4 separate regions of the Homo sapiens genome follow, and all the other regions are linked to region 2. The links are contacts of gene promoters, found by promoter capture Hi-C in blood cells and fetal thymus (Javierre and others, 2016). All regions are on one chromosome and are shown on one strand. The core of a region is centred on a gene start or on the middle of the fragment in contact, and the rest is flanking DNA. Distances in the headings are between cores, read along the strand shown. Region 1 overlaps CC2D2B (coiled-coil and C2 domain containing 2B). Region 2 holds the start of DNTT (DNA nucleotidylexotransferase). Region 3 overlaps CC2D2B (coiled-coil and C2 domain containing 2B). Region 4 overlaps CC2D2B (coiled-coil and C2 domain containing 2B).

Region 1 (2,700 bases), core at 194-2,693, 270 kb after region 2:
TCTAGAGAGCAAACTGCTGGTGAGAAAATTACTTGATTCTACATATGGGGGATTTAAGTGAGAATTTCAGAACAATTTATTCAACATCGATTCAGTTTATGTTTATTAAGTGACTACTATGTGATGGGATTAAAGGATTGTGGAACATGGTCCCATGGAAAATTACCTGTTTAATAATACATAGATGACAACCATTCTTTCACACTGTAATTGCTTAGCTCAGGAGGATTTTCCTGATCCTTAAATCTGTTCACACGCTCTTCCCATGTAGTTGTGTAGCACACTGTCCTTCCTTGAGCTTACTTAATAAAATATGTTGCAATTACCTGTTTTCTGGTCTCTCTCTAACTAACCCATAATCTCTGCAGATGTACAAGACTGTATCTGTCCTGTGTACTACTATAACTCCAGTGTCCAGCATAATGCCTGGCACATAGAAGAAAAAAAATAGATAGCATTTACTAAATACTTACTAGGTGTTGGGTGCCATGGTAATTATTAACTCACATAATCCTCAAGACAATGATAAAATGATAACTTTTTTAAAAAAATTCCTGTTTTCTAATGGAGTAGAGGGTATAGAGAGATTCGGTCACTTGCCCTAGGTCAAAGCTACTGAGTAGTTAAACTAGGATTTGAGCATGGGCTGCAGGGTTTAGTCCAGTTTTATTGTAGACTATGTATTACTAAATTGATTATTTTACATAGGTACTCCACATTTTAAACCTTGGCTTATATTTAACTATGCTTTATTATCTGTTTATCTCCTAATTCTACTAAAAACAAAGCAAAACCTACCTTACTTCTTTTACCATATGAGGAAACAGCAAGAAGGTGTATTATATATACAAGAACCCCTTTTCTGCCAGCACTTTGATCTTGGAATTCCCAGCTTCCAGAACCATGAGAAATAAATTTCTATTGTTTATAAGCTTTAAAATAAAGCAAAGCAAAGCAAAAACAACTTCCTCCCTATTCATGAGTGAATAGTGCCTGTAGATCCCTCCCTCCCCACCTAAGTACTCAACTCCCAATAGATTCCTTACTTCATCTCAGAGAGTTCCCTAGCAGACACCCTCTAGTCTATTGCATGGTAAGGGGAAGGAGTCTCACTCTTGGGAGGCTGAGGTTTTCAAAAACCCACTGGGCCAGTTTATAGGGAAGAAGAGGTGAAAGGATGCCCAGAGCTTGGGGTAGAGTAGGAGAAGGAAAGGAGCACCCTAACAATATACTAGATGCCCACCATGTTTGTTTATGGACTTGCTGAGTTTGAGATGTCTTTTTACCATCCAAAAAGATGTCAGTGGCCTGGCTGAATGTATAAATTTGGAAGTACGGTTGGTCCTTCATATCCATGGGTTTCGCATTTGAGGATTCAACCAACCACAAATTGAAAATATCCAGAAAAAAATAAAAAATAGCAGGCTGGGCACAGTGGCTCATTCTGTAATCCCAGCACTTTGGGAGGCTAAGGCTGGAGGATCATTTGAGCCCAGCAGTTCAAGACCAGTCTGGGCAATATAGTGAAACCCCATCTTTACAAAAATATTTTAAAAATTAGCCAGGCATGGTGGCAAGTACCTGTAGCCCCAGCTACTCAGAAGGCTGAAGCAGGAGGATTGCTTGAGCACAGGAGTTTGAGGCTACAGTGAACTATGATCACACCACTATACTCCAGCCTGGGTGACAAAGTGAGACCTCGTCGCAAAAAAAAAAACAAAACAACAATAAAAAATAATACAAATAGAAAACAATATAATGTAACTATTTATAATTATTACTTATAATACCTAACTATTGTGTGAGGTTGTACATAGATTATATGCAAAGACTATGGTATTTTATATAAGGGACTTGAGCATCTCTGGACTGTGGTATTTGTGGGGGTCCTGAGATAAATCTAATGATACCAAGGGACCACTGTAATTTGCATGTAGAAGATATTGAAGCTTGCCTGGAGTCCTCTTGCCCAGAACAAATAACAGGGAATTGATCTACTACTAGAGGTTTTTCTTAGTTTTTTAGTTGCAGAGTGGTTTCCTTTTGGACATCTCTTTGCAAAACCTGTAATTTATACATCATAAAACATATAACTGGTTCCAAGTTAATGCCATGCAACATGGTCCTAGTAATAATTCTTCAACACATTTGAAGTTTCTTGGTTTATAAGTAAATGCATTTTTAAAAATTTTTAATTTTTGTGGGCACATAGTACATATATAGATATACATATATATATATATATATACATATATATATATATATATATATATATATATATATATATATATATGGTACATGAAAAGATATTTTGATATGGGCATGCAATGATGCAATGCATAGTAGTCACATAATGGAAAATGGGCTATTCATCCCCCCAAGCATTTATCCTTTGTGTTATAAACAATTCAATTATACACTTTTAGTTATTTTTAAATGTACAATTAAATTATGATTGACTATAGTTACCCTGTTGTGCTATCAAATACTAGGTCTTATTCATTCTATTTTTTGTATCCATTACCCATTCCCCACCTCCCTCTGAACTCCCACTCCCCTTCCCAGCCTCTGGTAAGCTTCTACTCTCTATCTCCATGAGTTTGATTGTTTTGCTTTTTAGATCCCACAAATAAGTGAGAACATGTGATGTTTGTCTTTCTGTGCCTATCTAATTTCACTTAACATAATGACCTCCAGTTC
Region 2 (2,778 bases), core at 137-2,636:
GAAAAGTCAATGTCATATGAATCAGGGTGTTGCGAACATTAACATATCTGAAAATTGACTTTTGAAATATGTCTCCTCAACACTTGGAAGCTGACATTTCTTCTGCATGACATGCTTGTCAGTTTTATTTTCAAATATCAAAGACTATTTATACAATCAAAATGTCCTTTCACATAAAATTTTTATAGTTTTGCCTGAAAATTTGTGGTCAATTTATTTCTTGCACAGTCAAAGCGGTCAACTGCATAAATCATTACTCCTTCATTGCAAGCCCCTTAACAGTTTAATCCAGAACCATCACTTATGTCAAGGTTCTAATACCATTTGTTTCTGGATTTTGCTTGTTTTCTCTTCATCTATTTGAGATCAGTGAAGAGCTTACACAGAAGTTAGAAAAACAACAAGAATAATTGCTGTTCAAGGTGAGTGGATTAGTGAGTGAACCAATCTAGGTGGTCCAAATGCTTCTATCGCCTCCTTGCCTGGGCTCTGATTACATCTCACTCAGTGTGATGTCTGTCATCCCTGGACAGAGCTGTCTTAACAGTGAATACATCTTTACCTAGCATCTCTCTTTCTAAGAACCCCACTAGGACCACTCTTTGGAAAAATGTGGTCAAGGCCACATCTGGGTGCCTGTGGTAAGCTGGCTAGTCATCCTCGCCCACCACAGATGCTAGCTGCCTTAGCACGCCCAGATGTATAGGTAAGAACCAAGCAACCAAATCATCTTTCTGCATCAAAGTAGCCAAAACTTTTTTGTTGAACCCAGTGATACTTTGTTCAAATTGGTCAAGAATAGAATTGAGTGGTTCAGCATTAAATTTTCCAATTAGTGTTCTGCTTATCATCCCTAAATAACACATCTCATAGGAGTGAAAAGCAAAAAACAAAAAATTTATCTCATCTTTTGGTGTCAACTAGTTTCAATATAATTGTATTCAGTCCCCACTTATCTCGTTTTCCTTAACTAGTTGTTCTTTGATTTCAAATCTGCTGTTCTCCCAGTGGGAAGATCACCTCTTCCACATGTGGAAGAAAACACAGGTTCCTTGGGTTCCCAAGAAGCTGTTCACAAAGCCTCTGCTTATTTACAAAGCAAGATCGATGCTGTCCTACCTGAGCTCATTTTCAACCCTGAACCCTTTCCTGCGGGCCAGCTCCATGAGGAACGCTCTGCGGGTGGTTCCCATTTTCTTCTCCAAAATGAAGACGACCAAATCTTGAAATTTGATGTCTTGAGGAGAGGAGGCCATCAAGGCACCCGTCTGCCGGGGTCTCTTCTTCCGAGGGCTCAAGTGGGACGCTCGTGGTGGATCCATGGGAAGAGGCTGCTGCTGCCTCTGGCTGGCCCATCTGGTGGTGTCTCCAGAAGGGAGGGAGACTGCCACCCTCCTACACGAAGGGTTTTGATGTCATCTCACCAGCAGACTCTGAAGCCAGGCCAGGGCTTCACAGGTGCTGCCCTGGCAACAGCTTCCTGCCAAAGTGTGATGGGGAATTTTTATCTCTGTTCAGTTCATTTGTCCAATATGGAGATCATAATGAAGACAGTCAATTAACTTTTGTTTTCATACGCACAATCTCATTAGCTCCTCAGAGTAACCTCGTGAGGAAGGTAGGGAAGCATCATTGTTTGCATGTTATTTATTTCTAAATGTACTGAGGCCCTTCTGTGGTCTTTATTTATTGATCCCCTTTAAACCTCCCAACTCACTTGCATTCTCCTCCTTTTGTAGACAATCATTACACTGTACTGGATGTCTGTTATTTGCATGGGTGTTATATTCTGCTTGTGGTTGTTTTGACTTTACATAAATGGCATTGTTACATTTCTCATTTTGCCAATCACCTTTTTATTTCACTTGGAACTATGTTTTCCAGATCCGTATTCTAATTGCTCTGTTGCTTCTAACTGCTCCATAGTATTTCATGGTGGGTATTACCACCTGTTCACTTACATAGGTACATTTTATAAGCAAGAGAACCAAGGCTCAGTTATTCAAGATCACAGAATAAGGGGCCAAGCCATATCTTGAATTCAGTTCTTTGGATTCCAAATGCTGTATGCATATATTAGTTTTTTAAGTGGATTAAGGTTGTCCAGAGAGTAGTCTGTTATAAACCCTAAAATAGGTCTTCTTCAGTGGGATGGTATGACTTTTAGATGATAACCACTGCCATAAGGAGACATTTTCATAACTTTATGTGCAAAATTAAATTTGTCTTTCACCAATACACTCTATAGATCTCATTTCCTGAGCAGCTACTACACGGCCAAGGCAAGCACCTACCAGCCTTAGCTGACAGGATCCTCACAATACCACTGTCAGGTGGTCCTACCTTTCTCATTTGGCTAAACAATTTGCCCAAGGTCACAGAGCTACTGAATTTTCACAACTGAGAAATGATTGAGCTAGGATTTGGACTCAGATCTGTCTGATTTTAAAAGACTACTCTTAACCACCAAGGAGCCTTCCTCTGTATTGTCTTCTCCAATAACCAATCTGAGCTCTGCTCACCCTTTGTCCTTTTTTTTTTTTTTGGAGATGGAGTTTCGCTCTTATTGCCCAGGCTAGAGTGCAGTGACACAATCTCAGCTCACTGCAACCTCCACCTCCTGGGTTCAAGCGATCCTGCTACCTCAGCCTCCTGAATAGCTGGGATTACAGGCGCACGCCACCACGCCTGGCTAATTTTTGTATTTTTAGTAGAGATGGGGTTTCACCATGTTGGTCAGGCTGGTCTTGAACTCCTGACCTCAGGTGATCGGCCCAC
Region 3 (2,700 bases), core at 112-2,611, 310 kb after region 2:
TTCTAGTTTTTCAAATGACCATTATTTATTTATTTATTGAATAAACATCTACTGGGTCTATTCTATATCAGGTACTTTTCTAGGATCTAAAGATAAACAGAACTTTCTCTTAAGGATTTTAAAGTCTATCAGGGGAAAATATACAGGTAAACAAACAAGTGCAATGAAATGTGAGAAATAAGAGAAACATCTTTAAGGTATGAAAATTATTCAGGAAAAGGAATGATTAACTTTTGGGGGTGACAATAAGGAGAGCATCATGGAGAAAACATTGCTTGAGCGTGTGCTTTGAAACTTTAAGTCGTAGTTCCTTTGGACAATAACATGGATATGCGTCGAGGCCATTCCAGGCAAAGGAAACAACTAGTAGAGGCCTCATAGAACAAGGAGTAGCATGATATGCCTATGGGATAGAAAGAGATGAGGCTGATTGTAGGCATGGGCCAGATGCCTGAAGATTTTGTAGCCATTTTAAGGAGCTTACACCTTATCATATAGACCCTGAGAGCAGGGAATGAAATAGTTAGAATTACATTTTATAAAGGCCACCTTTACTGTGTCATGGAAAATAAACTGGAAGCCAAAGAAAATATAGATGGAGAGATGAATTAAGAGTCAATTGTAATTCAGAACAAACATAATCAATATTATACTTTATAGAAGTGTTAAATACTTACCTCATGTAAGGTCTCATCTGAGGCTACTGATTTGATTGTTTCTCTATGTCTGAGGCAAGATATAGATGATTTCAAACAAGTAGGCATATCCAAGGATCTTCAGGAAAAACAATAGAGAGACATACACCTTAATTAGTTTTAATATTAGTTTTGGTAGGAGTGGGTGGGTTTTTCCTGTGCTTATGAAGATATATAAGTCAGTTTCTCTGGTTCTTACTGAGTTTGCCTTGAATTGTCTTATCATGTGTGGTTACAGCTAAACATTTGATAATTACTACTCTGGAAGCGCAACTCCTAAATATTGAACTATGGATTAGATCTCGTCTATGATAAAATATTCACAGGTATTCAGAAAAAGGGGAAGAAAAGGCAAGTTATTCACGATGGATGTCAATTAAAATATATATTGTGGGTGGAGGATTACCCAGGTGCCGAGGCAAGAGACTGAAGGCACAAACTGTTGCAGTGTAATAAGGAAAATAGTTAAAATAAGAATAGTTATAATACAGATTAGATATAGAGATGATCATGGACATTATCAGTCATTAGTATAAACATTATTAATCATTAGCTTTTAATATTACTCTTTTTGTATTACTAATATAACCAAGGAATGACCGGCGGGTATAGGGTCAGATGCTGAAGGGACATTGTGAGAAGTGACCTAGAAAGGAAGAGGTGAGCCCTCTGTCACACCCGCATAAGGGCCGCTTGAGGGCTCCTTGGTCAAGCGGTAACGCCAGTGTCTGGGAAGGCACTCGTTACTTAGCAGACTGTGAAAGGAGTCTCCTTTCCTTGGAGGAGTCAGGGAACACTCTGCTCTACCAGCTTCTTGTGGAAGGCTGGATATTATCCAGGCCTGCCTGCAGTCATCCGGAGGCCTAAACCCCTCCCTGTGGCACTGTGCTTCAATGGTCACGCTCCTTGTCCACTTTCATGTTCCTCCCGTACTCCTGGTTCCTCTTTGAAGTTCTTAGAAGATAGCGGTAGAAGAAATAGTGAAAGTCTTAAAGTCTTTGATCTTTCTTACAAGTGCATAGAAGAAAACACTGATGTATGCTGCCTTCCCTGTCTGCTTTGGCTACCTAAAAGGGAAGGGCCCCCTGTCCCATGATCAGGTGACTTGCTTGACCTTATAATCACTTGGACGACTCACCCTCCTTACCCTGCCCCCTTTCTTGTATGCAATGAATATCAGTGCGCCCAGCCATTTGAGGCCACCACCGGTCTCTGCATCTTGGTGGTAGTGGTCCCCTGGGCCCAGCGGTTTTCTCTTTATCTCTTTGTCTTGTGTCTTTATTTCTTACTATCTCTCGTCTCTGCACACAGGGAGAATCCCTGCTAAGCCCCGTAGGGCTGGACTGTACTATATATATATATATATATATATATATATATATATATATATATATACACATACATACACACACACACACACACACACACACACACACACACACACACATTCTCTCTCTCTATATATATATATATACACTCTCTCTCTCTCTCTCTCTATATATATATATATATACACTCTTTATATATACACTCTATATATATTCTCTCTCTCTATATATATATACTCTATATATATACACACTCTTTCTATATATATATGACAAGTTATACTTTAAGAATATATCCCTCCTACTTTTTTGGTGTTACAATATTCTTTTTTTTTTTTTAGCAGCATGATGCTTATAGAAAATGGTGGTGATTTTATATGTCTTTATTTCACAAAACAGCCTTTGAAATATGCATTTGTTTTGAGCATACTTAATTCTTTTAGAAGAACAAGGCTGTAATTTGTAAGACACTGGCAAAACCTTTAAGAGATGTTAACTATAGATTAGTAGCCAGTAAGCAAAGCATTTGTTTTTCATAGGAAGAATTCATGAGCTGTGGTAGGCATAAATGTAAGCAAGCAGGGCACATGTATTGAACACAGACAGAGGGGAATGCCTAACATTCTTAAGGCATTTGGGTATAAATATTAGTAATATATAAATCATACTGACACTAC
Region 4 (2,700 bases), core at 33-2,532, 340 kb after region 2:
AAAATATGTATTCAAAAATAGAACTAAAATCAAGGTCCTATAAATCATTCAGCTCTTATTTTACTAAATTACAATTTAAAGAGATTACAGCACATATCTACCAGATGTCTTATGAGAGGAAAAAACTGAGGGGCTTGGGAATGGGGAGGGGAGGTTGAATCAAGAATTTAAAAATATTTCCTAACTTTAAAAAGACACACACATAGACTATATACACAAACACACAACCCTCCACACACCATGTTGTCAATAACTTCAAAGATGTGGCTCTAAGGCAACAGGCTTGCTGTGTCCTCTTAAAGGTCTTTGTAAATCACCTTAAGCTTTAGGCTGTGTACCCCTTTTCTCCAGGACAGTGGGGAGGCCACCCTATCTCTGAACCCAAAGATCAAAGGAGCAAGCCAGGTTACTTCCCTGGGGGAAACACTTGTTGAGGCATAAGTTGATCCCTTGACTGATATAAAACTCCTAGAGTCTTTCATTCGTTGTTTAATTCACTCAACCAATGTTTATTGAATATTTTCCTAGTGGCAAGAGAACTGATCTAATGATGTTTAAGACTTGACCCTCTTTCTCAGAAGGGAGAAGGCTGGGTGGAAGATAAACCCTAAGTTGAAACATAAAATCCCCTTCTGCTCCCCAATCTAATCACCCTATGGGCCCAGTATGTCCCTGCCTTATTATCTGTCCATCTCTGTAACCTTCTCAAAGAGTTAGGGGACAAAAGATTACCTATTCTTATCTCCCTGTTGGCCTCTTTCGACCATATTCCCAATTACCTTTCAAGAAATATCTAAGTAAAAGTTACCCTTTCTGTTGCCCTCTAAAAGTATTGATTTTAAAAATTTGAATTTGATTTTAAAAGTTTGTTGAATTGATTTTAAAAATTTGTTTATTCAGGGTTATAATTATCTTCAGGAAATCTTGCCTTTCTCTTCACCTGTAAACTCTTTTTAATTTTTCTCTAATCTCTGTATTCTTTTCACTTCTATCCTCTATATCGACATATTATTCTTTTCTGGAGAATGAGTTTTTATTCTACTGGGTGTGTTAAATAGATGACAGCAATGCTATCGGATGGCAATGGCTTTGCAAAGATATAAAACACCATACATCCTTTTGCCTTGACTTCCACTAAGTTTTAGTCTAGGTTTTCCAGCACAAATATCTTCTTCCTCCTCTTTCTTCTCTCTCCCTCCAACTTTCATTTTATGGCTCCTGTATTCTTCCCCTTGTTTAGATAGTCTTTTTATATGGGTGTCCTACATAATAAAGTATCTCAGGCCCTTTTTGGAAGAAGGTACAGAACAAATAAAGGATTTCTCCACTGCTGCACTTCTCTGGTCAGAAAGTGGGTGGTGATAATTGTGACTTTGTGTCTGCTGCCCTTTTGGTTGTTAATGTAAGCATCCATTCACTCATTTAATATATATAAACATTTATTGATTACCCAGTATTTTCCAACACTGCTAAATGATGCACATTCCCAATACTCAATGATGGACTGGTACCAAGTGTGCCATGGGATAGAGATGTTGAAAAATTAGACCTAGTACTCTAAGTTGCCATATCCTCTTTAAGGGAGATGGGATCCATAGGCCTAGTAGATGGAGAAATGGGGTTACCTATGATGTCTGTTTTTGCATAATGTTCTAGGCATAGAGAGAAAACATTACAGCTCAAGGAAGAAATCACAACTGTGAAGTAAAGAAGTTTGTAATGTCAAAGAAGAAAATTGTTTAGGGGGCCCTCTTGATGTGAAATAGTTTTTATGAGAGCCAGAGTTCCTTTAACAAGCAAAGACAATGGTATATTACTTTTTACAGTGCCTTTATATCTCACCTATTTATACCTGAACGAAAATTACTAACATAGCAAAACAAAACAAAAAAACCCTGCAAATTATCAATATATGAAGACTAGCAGTGAAGATATCACAGTTTCTATAGAACACCAAACTGGTTTATGTCCCACCTCAGGCATGTATTAGATGTGTGAACCTGGGCAATTTAACTTCCCATGAGCTACATTCCTTCTTTAAGATGAGGATAATATGGAACTCTATAGAGTTATGGTGACAATTAAATATGAAAATGTGTTTTTAAAAACTTAGAGTGCCTGGCATATGGTACTCACCCAAGAAATCCCACTTTATTATTAAAAACAATCCAATTAATAGACAATATATAATAAATAAATAATTATTTAAACATGCTTACAAGGAACACTTGGATAAGCTTGTTAATTCTGCAGTGAAAGAAAGTTGTGGCCTCAAGGTAATTGGCTTTATTCTTTCAATTTCTGTTTCGTCTGAAGCTAGATATGAGAGGCTCTAGAAATCAAAAAATAAATATATGATTTGCCATGTACATCCCTGTGTAGGACATTTATTCTTAAAATTCATTTATTTCTTGTATTTGTCAGTTTGTTGGATAACTTTTAGAAATACCAAGATTTCACATTCTATCAAAAAATAAAATATTATAACTAGTTGAGTTTAATGTTATTTTGCAATATAAATACCTCCAGTTTTTTCCCATTCTTAAGTTCTTTTCCTTCATTTTTCTTCTCAGTTTCAGACATTTCTGAGATTTGCTCTTGTTCATCACATTTATTCATTTTAATCCTAATTAATAATAAACAGAATTATTGAAAGCAGAAATAATGGAGGTATTTGAGAGTTGTTCGAGATTTTGCCAA

What was found. The method cuts DNA at HindIII sites, captures the fragments that hold promoters and counts their contacts. A CHiCAGO score of 5 or more calls a contact.
Region 1: a fragment that was not itself captured here is called in contact with the fragment with the promoter of DNTT in region 2 in 9 of 17 cell types (naive CD4 T cells, endothelial precursors, M2 macrophages and 6 more); the score reaches 8.8 in naive CD4 T cells.
Region 3: a contact is called between a fragment that was not itself captured here and the fragment with the promoter of DNTT in region 2, in 1 of 17 cell types (endothelial precursors). The highest score is 5.9, in endothelial precursors.
Region 4: a contact is called between a fragment that was not itself captured here and the fragment with the promoter of DNTT in region 2, in 1 of 17 cell types (neutrophils). The highest score is 5.4, in neutrophils.

Annotation. Positions count from the first base shown.
Region 1 is chr10:96,028,835-96,031,534 of GRCh38, reverse strand. All of the region lies in intron 34 of CC2D2B (coiled-coil and C2 domain containing 2B), which reads right to left. All of the region lies in intron 2 of ENTPD1-AS1 (ENTPD1 antisense RNA 1), which reads left to right. Among named protein-coding and RNA genes, the nearest start is that of CCNJ, 13 kb to the left of the region's middle. The HindIII fragment of the contact is 1,017 bases long and covers 935-1,951 here.
Region 2 is chr10:96,303,042-96,305,819 of GRCh38, reverse strand. It overlaps DNTT (DNA nucleotidylexotransferase), which reads right to left and starts at 1,386. Exons shown (of 11, transcript NM_004088.4): 1 at 1,120-1,386. The coding sequence starts at 1,322. The HindIII fragment of the contact is 4,232 bases long and covers 1-2,778 here.
Region 3 is chr10:95,993,343-95,996,042 of GRCh38, reverse strand. CC2D2B (coiled-coil and C2 domain containing 2B) reads right to left here. Exons shown (of 35, transcript NM_001349008.3): 23 at 678-774. All of the region lies in intron 2 of ENTPD1-AS1 (ENTPD1 antisense RNA 1), which reads left to right. Among named protein-coding and RNA genes, the nearest start is that of CCNJ, 49 kb to the left of the region's middle. The HindIII fragment of the contact is 3,350 bases long and covers 1-2,700 here.
Region 4 is chr10:95,965,822-95,968,521 of GRCh38, reverse strand. CC2D2B (coiled-coil and C2 domain containing 2B) reads right to left here. Exons shown (of 35, transcript NM_001349008.3): 13 at 2,524-2,626; 14 at 2,220-2,332. The region is part of intron 2 of ENTPD1-AS1 (ENTPD1 antisense RNA 1); the gene reads left to right. Among named protein-coding and RNA genes, the nearest start is that of CC2D2B, 59 kb to the right of the region's middle. The HindIII fragment of the contact is 1,914 bases long and covers 326-2,239 here.